Linked DNA regions of Homo sapiens: region 2 is linked to region 1. The links are contacts of gene promoters, found by promoter capture Hi-C in human tissues and cell types (Jung and others, 2019). All regions are on one chromosome and are shown on one strand. Each heading gives the region's core, a stretch centred on a gene start or on the middle of the fragment in contact. The rest is flanking DNA. Distances are from core to core; before and after follow the strand shown. Region 1 holds the start of DUSP16 (dual specificity phosphatase 16). Region 2 has its middle 5.4 kb from the start of LRP6.

Region 1 (5,230 bases), core at 2,731-5,230:
AGGGAAGGTCAGCAGATAAACAAGTGAACAAAGGTCTCTGGTTTTCCTAGGCAGAGGACCCCGCGGCCTTCCGCAGTGTCTGTGTCACTGGGTACTTGAGATTAAGGAGTGGTGATGACTCTTAACGAGCATGCTGCCTTCAAGCATCTGTTTAACAAAGCACATCTTGCACCGCCCTTAATCCATTTAACCCTGAGTGGACACAGCACATGTTTCAGAGAGCACAGGGTTGGGGGTAAGGTCACAGATCAACAGGATCCCAAGGCAGAAGAATTTTTCTTAGTACAGAACAAAATGAAAAGTCTCCCATGTCTACTTCTTTCTACACAGACACGGCAACCATCTGATTTCTCAATCTTTTCCCCACCTTCCCCCCCTTTCCATTCCACAAAACCGCCATTGTCATCATGGCCCGTTCTCAATGAGCTGTTGGGTACACCTCCCAGACGGGGTGGTGGCCAGGCAGAGGGGCTCCTCACTTCCCAGTAGGGGCGGCCGGGCAGAGGCGCCCCTCACCTCCCGGACGGGGCGGCTGGCCAGGCGTGGGGCTGACCCCCCCACCTCCCTCCCAGACAGGGCGGCTGGCCTGGCGGGGGCTGAGCCCCACCTCCTTCCCGGACTGGGTGGCTGCCGGGCGGAGACGCTCCTCACTTCCCAGACGGGGTGGCTGCCGGGCGGAGGGGCTCCTCACTTCGCAGACGGGGCGGCTGCCGGGCGGAGGGTCTCCTCCCTTCTCAGACGGGGTGGCTGGGCAGAGACGCTCCTCACCTCCCAGACGGGGCGGCGGGGCAGAGGCGCTCCCCACATCTCAGACGATGGGCGGCCGGGCAGAGACGCTCCTCACTTCCTAGATGGGATGGCAGCCGGGAAGAGGCGCTCCTCACTTCCTAGATGGGATGGCGGCCGGGCAGAGACGCTCCTCACTTCCAGATGGGGCAGCCAGGCAGAGGGGCTCCTCACGTCCCAGACGATGGGCAGCCAGGCAGAGACGCTCCTCACTTCCCAGATGGGGTGGCGGCCGGGCAGAGGCTGCACTCTCAGCACTTTGGGAGGCCAAGGCAGGCGGCTGGGAGGTGGAGGTTGTAGCGAGCCGAGATCACGCCACTGCACTCCAGCCTGGGCACCATTGAGCACTGAGTGAACCAGACTCAGTCTGCAATCCCGGCACCTCAGGAGGCCGAGGCTGGCGGATCACTCACGGTTAGGAGCTGGAGACCAGCCCGGCCAACACAGCGAAACCCCGTCTCCACCAAAAAAATACGAAAACCAGTCAGGCGTGGCGGTGCGTGCCTGCAATCGCAGGCACTCAGCAGGCTAAGGCAGGAGAATCAGGCAGGGAGGTTGCAGTGAGCCGAGATGGCAGCAGTATAGTCCAGCTTCGGCTCGGCATCAGAGGGAGATCGTGGAAAGAGAGGGAGCGGGAGCGGGAGCGGGAGAGGGAGAGGGCTGTTTCCACATATTTATTGTTAGTATGTAGAAAACCTTTCTTAGTAAAAGAAAGAAATGTACTCTTCGGTGAAGTAAACTTGTTTAGTGGTTTCCCCTTCACCTGCTGGGCAGGTAACAATCTATTTATTCTAACATTCAAGTACCTCCACAATGTGCCTCTGTATCTCTTAAATTTAACCTCATACCTAATTGCTAAATACCGATTTCTACTGCTACTGGGTTTACTCTTCTGTCACTTGAATACACCTTACTCATTATTCATTCCACCTCCATGTCTTGGCTCATTGCCATTTGCCCTCTGGAATCTTCCCTCCACTGGCTTCTTCACTGCAAACTAAATCTGAACTGTCCTTCAAGGATAAGGTCAAAACTCTTTATAAGGTGCCTTCCCTGATAATCCCAGCCTACATTGCTCCTTTTCTCCCCTGATGTTTTTTTTTGTTTGTTTGTTTTTTTTTTTTTTTTTGAGATGGAGTCTCACTCTGTTGCCAGGCTGGAGTCTGGAGTGCAGTGGTGCGATCTCGGCTCATTGCAACCTCCACCTCCCGGGTTCAAGTGATTCTTCTGCCTCAGCCTCCTGAGTAGCTGGGACTACAGGCGCCCACCACCACGCCTGGCTAATTTTTGTATTTTTAGTAGAGACGGGGTTTCACCATGTTGGCCAGGATGGTCTCGATCTCTTGACCTCATGATCCACCCGCCTCGGGCCTCCCAAAGTGCTGGGATTATAGGCTTAAGCCACCACGCCCGGCCCCCTGACTCTTTTAACCAATATTGTACATCACTCAATCATTGATTTCGTTTTTAATGAGCTTTAATATACGTCTTGTTTCCAGAAATAGATGAAATACCCTGAGAGACTTCTATGATAGCTATGATGGCACCACATCATACATTACACAAACTTAATTGTGTAACTGAGGAAAGGGGAGAAACGTTTCAAGCCATGTCAGTTAAAGCAAGGTTACTGGAACTTTGGCATGCAAAGGGGATACCATTAATTCTCATGAATCTTTCCTCCAGGCAAGATCCATGCTCTGTACCACTAGTAAAAGGACTATCTTCTTCTTCCTTCCTAAAAATCCCAACACCTCCAACAAAGGTCTACAGTTAGATTTTTAGGGGTTTCCTGGTAGAGCACAAATAATCCCAAGGAAGCTGCAGTAACACCTCCTGGCCACCAGAGGACAGGGAGCAGTGGGAGAGATTTGCTTCCCCTAGCAAAGTCTTCAAGAGGCCAGAGGCACAGGCTCAAAGTTGCTTCTCCATCTGTGGCCTTCAGGCTTTACCTACTACTGCCAGAGGTGCTAGGGTGCCTCCCATCTTCAAATGGGCTTTTTTTTTCCCTCCTATAAAAGATGGGCCAGAAGTTCCCAGGGCCATACCCCGCAACACTAACCTTCAATGATTACCAATCATAAGGAATGCCTTTAGTTGCAGGACTTAAAGGCAGAAAAGTAGTAACAGGGGTGTATTATCTTTCGAACCCACCCAAACCTGCTTATCAGTTCTTTTGCTAGTGGAAAAACGTGCTTTAGGCAGGGTGCACATGGATATCCCACAGCAAACAGTGCCTTTAGGGTCTAGTGTCCCAATCCGGCACATTGTAAATGGAATATTTGAAGAGTTAGATTATTCCTACACATAAATTCTGGCTCATGGAGCAGTCCACTCGCAGGGTGCTTTTCCGTCATTAATCACATCTTTGTTATGTGATATCCACGTGAGTACTTCTCAGTAGAAGCAGCTTCATGCTCAAATGCTCAAAGAACATTGGAATAAAGCTCCGATTGTCCTATTCAGTGATTCCAAGTCCTGGTTTGTCACCACCTCAGGTCTCTCGTTTTCCAAAGTGCATAATGTCATCTCAAAACAGACATTTTAATGAATTCAAATAATAAAATGCACGAGGTATGTGGAGTTAAATCAACAAGGGTTTTGTACCTCTCAAGAGGCGGTTAACCCCTGGTCTTATTTAAAGATGTTTCTGCGCTGCCTCCTGTAGAAAACATTTTTAAAGAAAATGTAGGCTGCTTATCCTTGTATTTGTAAATATAAGCAAAGTAAAGTAATGTAGGAACATTTATGTGGGGGCTTTCAACCATAAACATATAGATAGCTGAATGCCTGACAACAGTAGTGTGATTTTTCTTGAAGTACCTGTAACTTCTCTCCTGAGAGATGGCAGAGCCTTGCCTTTTGCATTCGCCAGACTTTTTACAGAGCGAGTGTAATTCTCTCAAATCAGTGTTTGCGTTTTTTGACGTTGGTGAGGCAGCTGGAAACAGCTCAAGGAGGAGGGAAAGGTTCTGCGTCTGGGTGAGGGAGAAAACCCTCCGATACCTGTTGGGGCGCAGCACTGGAGGCGGACACCCCGGCCCGGGGGTCGGGGCCGCGAGCCCGGGGGTAGGGGGCGGGCGCGCGGGCGCGGGAGGAGGAGGAGGAGGAGGGAGAGGTGGGGGAGGAGGCCGCGGGGCCGCCTCCTCCGGCAGCTCCGGCTCCTCCCAGCGGCGCCCGCGGAACCTGCCTCAGAGTCGCCGGACTCTGGAAGGGAACATGACCTGACCCCTCCCCGAGCGGCCGGAACGAGGCGCGGAGCCGCGCTCCGGGCTCGGGCGGCCGCGGGATGGGCGAGCGCGCGGCCCCGCCCGGCGCCCACCGCCCTGCCCTCGCCTGTCTCCTCCTTTCCCCGGGGCTCCGCTGAGTTCATTCACTGGGATTGGTTTCAAGTGACGCCATCTCTTTATTTTTAAACCAATGACCTCATCCGCGCTTGAAGTTTCCTGACCAGCGACTCTTTCTCTTTCCCCCAACCCCCCACCCCACCCCCCCGCCTTTCCCCCTCTTTCTATGTATCAGTGTTTGGGGGGCTTTAATCAGTTTTTAAACGATTATTACCACCTCTCTCTCCCCCCCAACCCCCACTTTCACAACGCGGCCCCCCACCTTTACCTCCCTAAGTTCTTCATCTCTTTCGACATTTTTTTTGAAGGCTGATGGGGGGGAGGGTGGAAGAGAAAGAGTGAAGAAAAGTTGCGAGCGTCTCCTCTCTTCCTAAGCCTCCCGCCCCAACCCACCCCTCAGAGAAGGAGAAGATAATATACTGAAAAGAAGAGGAGGAGGAGAGCGACGGGACGGGACGCGAGCGGGAGCGCAGCCGCCCTCTCGGCTCCGCGGCGGCGCCTCGCAAGTCCGGGAGGCGAGGGGGGCCCGAGGGGAGACGCCGTGACAACTTTCGTTTCCCTCTGAGGGAATTGGGAGGTCGGCGGCCCCAAAAGTAAGTGGCCTTGGCGGGCCGCGCGGGGTGTGCGGGCGGGAGGGTGCGGGGCCCGGGGCGCCCTCCCGCCCGGCCGCATGGACGCTCCGCAGCGCGCCCCGACTCCCGGTGCCGGGCGCCGCGCTCCAGCCCCGCCGTCTCTGCCTTCCCGGGCGTACCGGCCACCCTTTCGGGAGGCGGCGTGGGGGCGACCGCGGCCGGGGGCCGCAGGAGCGTTTGAAGCGGGGGTGTAGGCCTGGCCGGAGGCTGGCCGGAGCGGGAAGGGGGCGTGCGGCCGGGCGCGGGGTCGCAGTGGGTGCGCTCCCGGCCGCTGCGCGGCGCTTGGACCGGGCCCCGCCGAGAGGAGCGGCCGCCGCGGGACGCGGCACCTTTGCGGGCGAAGCTGCTCACTTCCAGGCGCGACTGTTACACAACACGCCTGCCAAGTGGGGCCCTGGCCTGACTGTTCCCATTATCCCCAGTTCGCCTTTGGTGTAAGCAGCGAGGCCACCTGGGTGGTGACGG
Region 2 (5,230 bases), core at 996-3,495, 290 kb after region 1:
TCCTGTTTGGGACAAACGTAAGAAATTTAATGTATAGCGTTTAATTTATTTTTCATGTTTTAATAGACTTTACAGGGGGTTTATATAGCTGATGTTGAAAAAAGAAAAATATTATTGAAAACAAAGTTACTTCTTTTCTTTTCTTTCTTTTCCTTTTTCTTTTTTTTTTTGAGACGAGGTTTTGCTCTTGTTGCCCAGGCTGGAGTGCAATGGAGTGATTTCGGCTCACCGCAACCTCTGCCTGCCGGGTTCAAGCGATTCTCCTGTCTCAGCCTCCCGAGAAGCTGGGACTACAGGCATGTGCTACCACTCCTGGCTAATTTTGTATTTTTAGTAGAGACGGGGTTTCTCCATGTTGATCAGGCTGGTCTTGAACTCCGGACCTCAGGTGATCTGCCCACCTCGGCCTCCCAAAGTGCTGGGATTACTGGCGTGAGCCACCATGCCTGGCCCCAAAGTATACTTATTTTCTAATTATAGTGAATTCTTCTTAGGCATCTGATGTGATATTTTCATGGTGCAGCTAGGAACAAGTGTTATTCCCATTGAAGGAGGGAAAAATAGATGGGCCAGGCGCAGTGGCTCATGCCTGTAATCCCAGCACTTTGGGAGTCTGGAACACTTGTCCCTCAAGTCTGGATCACTTGAGGCTAGGAGTTTGAGACCAGCCTAGCCAACATGGCGTAACCCTGCCCCTACTAAAAATACAAAAAAAAAAAAAAAAAAGCCGGGTGCGGTGGCTCACACCTGTAGTCTCAGCACTTTGGGAGGCCGAGGCAGGCGGATCACGAGGTCAGGAGATTGAGACCATCCTGGCTAACACGGTGAAACCTTGTCTCTACTAAAAATACAAATAATTAGCCAGGCGTGGTGGCAGGCGCCTGTAGTCCCAGCTACTCGGGAGGCTGAGGCAGTAGGCGTGAACTGGGGAAGAGGAGCTTGCAGTGAGCTGACATAGCACCACTGCACTCCAGTCTGGGCGACAGAGCAAGACTGTCAAAAAAAAAGAAAGAAAAGAAAAGAAAAGAAAAAGAAAGAAGGCAGGGCACGGTGGCTCATGCCTGTAATCCCAGCACTTTGGGAGGCCGAGGTGGGCAGATCATGAGGCCAGGAGTTCGTGACCAGCCTAGCCAGCATGGTGAAACCCCATCTCTACTATTAAAAAAATAATAATAAAAAAATAAAAATAAAAAAAGGAAGAAAGAAAGACATTAGCCAGGCATGGTGGCACGCGCTTGTAATCCCAGCTACTTGGGAGGCTGAGACATAAGAATTGCTTGAACCCTGGAGGTGGAGGTTGGAGTGAGCCGAGGTCACACCACTGCATTCCAGCCTGGTGACAGAGAGAGACTCTGTCTCAAAAAAGAAAAAAGAAAAATAGAGGCAAGAAGGCCACTCTTCATGATATACACCACATTTCTGGTAGGGAGTTATAGCAGCATCCTCTGTGCTGTTAGAGGATCCTATAATGTGTCCTTTGTCAACTCCCTCTTCCATTCCCAGCTTCTCCAAACCTTTGTCACTTTCCTGACCTCCTCCCCGACCACCATATTCTTTCTTACTTCACTCTCAATGTAGACTTTGCTTTCTGTTTTTATGTAAATGAAGGCAATCAAATCTTGTCTCCACTATCCCTTCCCCATGAAACCTATTTATAGCTACTAGGGGCAGATTCAGGTTTTGTAGTGCTGAGCATATACAACTGGAGAAGGAGATATTTTAAAGAAAATGAATACTAAAACAATCTTGGTTTTGCAAGTAGTATAAAAACATATGACCATCCTAATCATTGCCATGGTCCCTCCCAAGGCCTCTGGAAGGAGTCTGTGAAAGTGGGAGTGGAGAAAGGAGAGCTGAAGGTCAAGCAGCCACACTGACTCTCCTCTCCTCCAGAAGTGGAAATCCTCCTGCTCCTCCTCCCATCCAAGGCTGATCCATTCTGCTAGGCTCCAGATCCTCTTGAAGTCTCTGAATCACTTTCCTCACTCTCCTTCTTTATTTGATCACTTACTTCAGGTTACAAATATGATCACATTCCTCTCAAACTTAAAAACAAAGTAAGCAATCAACCCTAACTAAGTCAACTCCCAGATTCCTCCAGCCTCACATTCCTTTCCAGCCACCCAAGTGTTCTCTTTCCTTTAACAATAAGATTTGGGAAAAACCACTGCCCTCCCTCCCTGTTTCCCCTTCATTTCTCAATTCACTGCACTTTTGCTTTGGATCTCATACCTCTGCTGAAACTGCTTTGGCTTAAAGTCACCAATGACTATTTTGTGCACTTTATCTGTGATTTTTTTTAAAAAGCAGGCTTCAGGTTCTTTTGATTAGGTTGAACCAGGAAAACTGTCATTTTTGTAGGCTTTTTTTTTTTTTTGAGATGGAGTCTCACTCTGTTGCCAGGCTGGAAAGCAGTGGCGCCATCTCGGCTCACTGCAACCTCCACCTCCGGGGTTCAAGCGATTCTCCTGCCTCAGCCTCCCAAGTAGCTGGGATTACAGGTGCCTGCCACCACACCCAGCTAATTTTTGTATTTTTAGTAGGGACAGGGGTTTCACCATGTTGCCCAGGCTAGTCTCAAACTCCAGACCTCAGGTGATCTGTCTGCCTCAGCCTCCCAAAGTGCTGGGATTACAGGCGTGAGCCACCGCGCCCGGCCAGCGTTTCAGTTTAAAGGTGTATGTATTTTACTCCCAGACTGATTTTCTAAAACACTGGCATAATGTATGTTCCCATCAATGACGTTCGAGAAAGTTATAGTCACAATGCCCTCTTTTCAGCACTTCTCACAGCAGACTCTCTGTTGTTAACAGTTAACACTGCATTTGCCATTACTAATCATACCTTCTTTAGTGGTAGCAATTTCTTTCTTTCTTTTTTTTTTTTGAGACAGAGTTTCACTCTTTTTGCCCAGGCTGGAGTGCAATGGCGCGATCTCGGCTCACTGCAACCTCTGCCTCCCGGGTTCAAGCGATTCTCCTGCCTCAGCCTCCCAAGTAGCTGGGATTACAGGCGCCTGCCACCATGACCGGCTAATTTTTTTTTTGTATTTTTAGTAGAGACGGGGTTTCACGATGTTGGCCAGGGTGGTCTCGATTTCTCGACCTCGTGATCCGTCTGCCTCGGCTTCCCAAAGTGCTGGGATTACAGGAGTGAGCCACCGTGCCCGGCCAGTGGTAGCAATTTCAATAAGTGTTTTTTTTTTTTTTTTTTTTGAGACAGAGTCTTACTCTGTTGCCCAGGCTGGAGTGTGCAGTGGTGTAATCTCGGCTCACTGCAACCTCCGCCTCCCAGGTTCATGCCATTGTCCTGCCTCATTCTCCCGAGTAGCTGGGACTACAGGCGCCCACCACCATGCCCGGCTAATTTTCTGTATTTTTAGTAGAGACGGGGTTTCACCGTGTTAGCCAGGATGGTCTGGGCCTCCTGACCTCGTGATCCGCCCACCTCGGCCTCCCAAAGTGCTGGGATTACAGGCGTGAGCCACCGCGCCCGGCCTTTTTTTTTTTTTTTTTTTTTTTCAGACAGAGTCGCACTCTGTTACCCAGGCTGGGTGGCAATGGCGTGATCTTGGCTCACTGCAACCTCCGCCTCCCGGGTTCAAGCAATTCTCCTGTCTCAGCCTCCTGAGTAGCTCGGATTACAGGCACGTGTTACCATGCCTGGCTAATTTTTCTGTTTTTAGTAGAGATGGGGTTTCACCATGTTAGCCGTGCCGGTTTCGGACTCCCGGCCTCAGATGATCCATCCACCTCGGCCTCCTAGAGTGCTGGGATTACAGGCGTGAGCCACCGCGCCCGGCCTCCACCTGGATGTTTCATAGACACCTCCAATACAAAAGAGCCATTGTTAAACTTATTACCCACTCCTTCTTGAAATACTTCTTAGGTTTTCTTTTCTTTGTAAAGGAGACTCCCATTACTCTCTGTTTCTCTCTCAATTCACAACTAAAAGTCCTGTTTTAATCTCGTATTCTTTAAATCCATGATGTCTTTTCAGTCCTCAGCGCTGCTGTCCTGATTGCCCCTTTCATAGACTTCTGTACAATGTGCAAAATTCTTCAATGTCCGCATTGTTAATATGCTAAAATCTAAACTTCTTAGCATGGCTTGAAAAGGTTTTTATTAATCAATAGCTATTTAATGGTCCTGCCTCAATTCCTGACATTCTCTAAAAGCATTCCATGCATCAGCTATATGAATCTACTTTCAAATCCCCAACATACTAAGTTCTCTAATGATTCAGTGTCTTTAAACCTACTATTGTGATTGAAATTTTTTTTCAGTCTTGTTGGCCTGGCAAAGTCTGATTTGTATTTCCAACCTCAGCGCTAGGGTTATTTTCCCTTCTTTTGTTTTGTTTTGTTTTGTTTTTTTGAGACAGAGTTTCACTCTGTTGCCCAGTCTGGAGTTCAGGGGCGCAATCTCGGCTCACTGCAACCTTCGCCTCCTGGGTTCAAGTGATTCCTGTGCCTCAGCCTCGTGAGTAGCTGGGATTAAAGTTGTGAGCCACTGCGCCTGGCCCTTTTTTCCCTTCTTTGAATTGTCTAGGCAGAAAAGCATCTCTACACTTAGCAATTTTGTCTTTTTTTTTTTTTTAGTTGGAGACAGGGTCTCACTGTATTGCCCAGGCTGGAGTGCAGTGGCAAGATCACAGCTCACTGCAGCATTGGCCTCCTAGGCTCAAGTGATCCTCCAACCTTAGCCTCCCGAATAGCTAGGACTCCAGGTACACGCCACCATGTCTAGCTAATTTTTGTATTTTTTGTAGAGATGGGGTTTCGCCATGTTGCCCAGGCTGGTCTCGAGCTCCTGGGCTCAAGTGATCTGCCCACTTTGACTTCCCAAAGTGCTGGGATTACAGTTGTATGCCACTGTGCCCTGCAGATTTTAATATTTTAATTACTCACTTTATTAATCAGTGTTTCCAAACTAGGCTGTAAGCTTCTTGAGGGTAGGGACTATGATTACTCTCATCTTTATATCCCCAACACTTAACAGAGTGATTGGTATCTGATTGGCACTTAAAAGAATGAGAAACAAAATTAGTTATGCAGTAATAATGGCATTCTCTCTAGGGCTTAAGCTTAACCTATAGATTTTCACTTAAGCATCTTTTAAAAATTTGTAGTAAATATATAGTACATTAAACAAAATTGAAGAACAGAAAAGCAAACTACATCTCATATTATTTCACCATCCTAATGCCTATTTTAGTGCACTTACTTTTG

What was found. The method cuts DNA at HindIII sites, captures the fragments that hold promoters and counts their contacts. A contact is called where the count stands out against the background at its distance.
Region 2: a fragment that was not itself captured here is called in contact with the fragment with the promoter of DUSP16 in region 1 in 1 of the 25 tissues and cell types used here (hippocampus).

The regions. Positions count from the first base shown.
Region 1 is chr12:12,561,613-12,566,842 of GRCh38, reverse strand. It overlaps DUSP16 (dual specificity phosphatase 16), which reads left to right and starts at 3,980. Exons shown (of 7, transcript NM_030640.3): 1 at 3,980-4,726. RefSeq lists silencers at 3,671-4,180, 4,631-4,710, 4,741-4,860, 4,881-5,080. The HindIII fragment of the contact is 19,289 bases long and covers 1-5,230 here.
Region 2 is chr12:12,269,848-12,275,077 of GRCh38, reverse strand. No RefSeq gene overlaps it. Among named protein-coding and RNA genes, the nearest start is that of LRP6, 5.4 kb to the right of the region's middle. The HindIII fragment of the contact is 7,326 bases long and covers 1-5,230 here.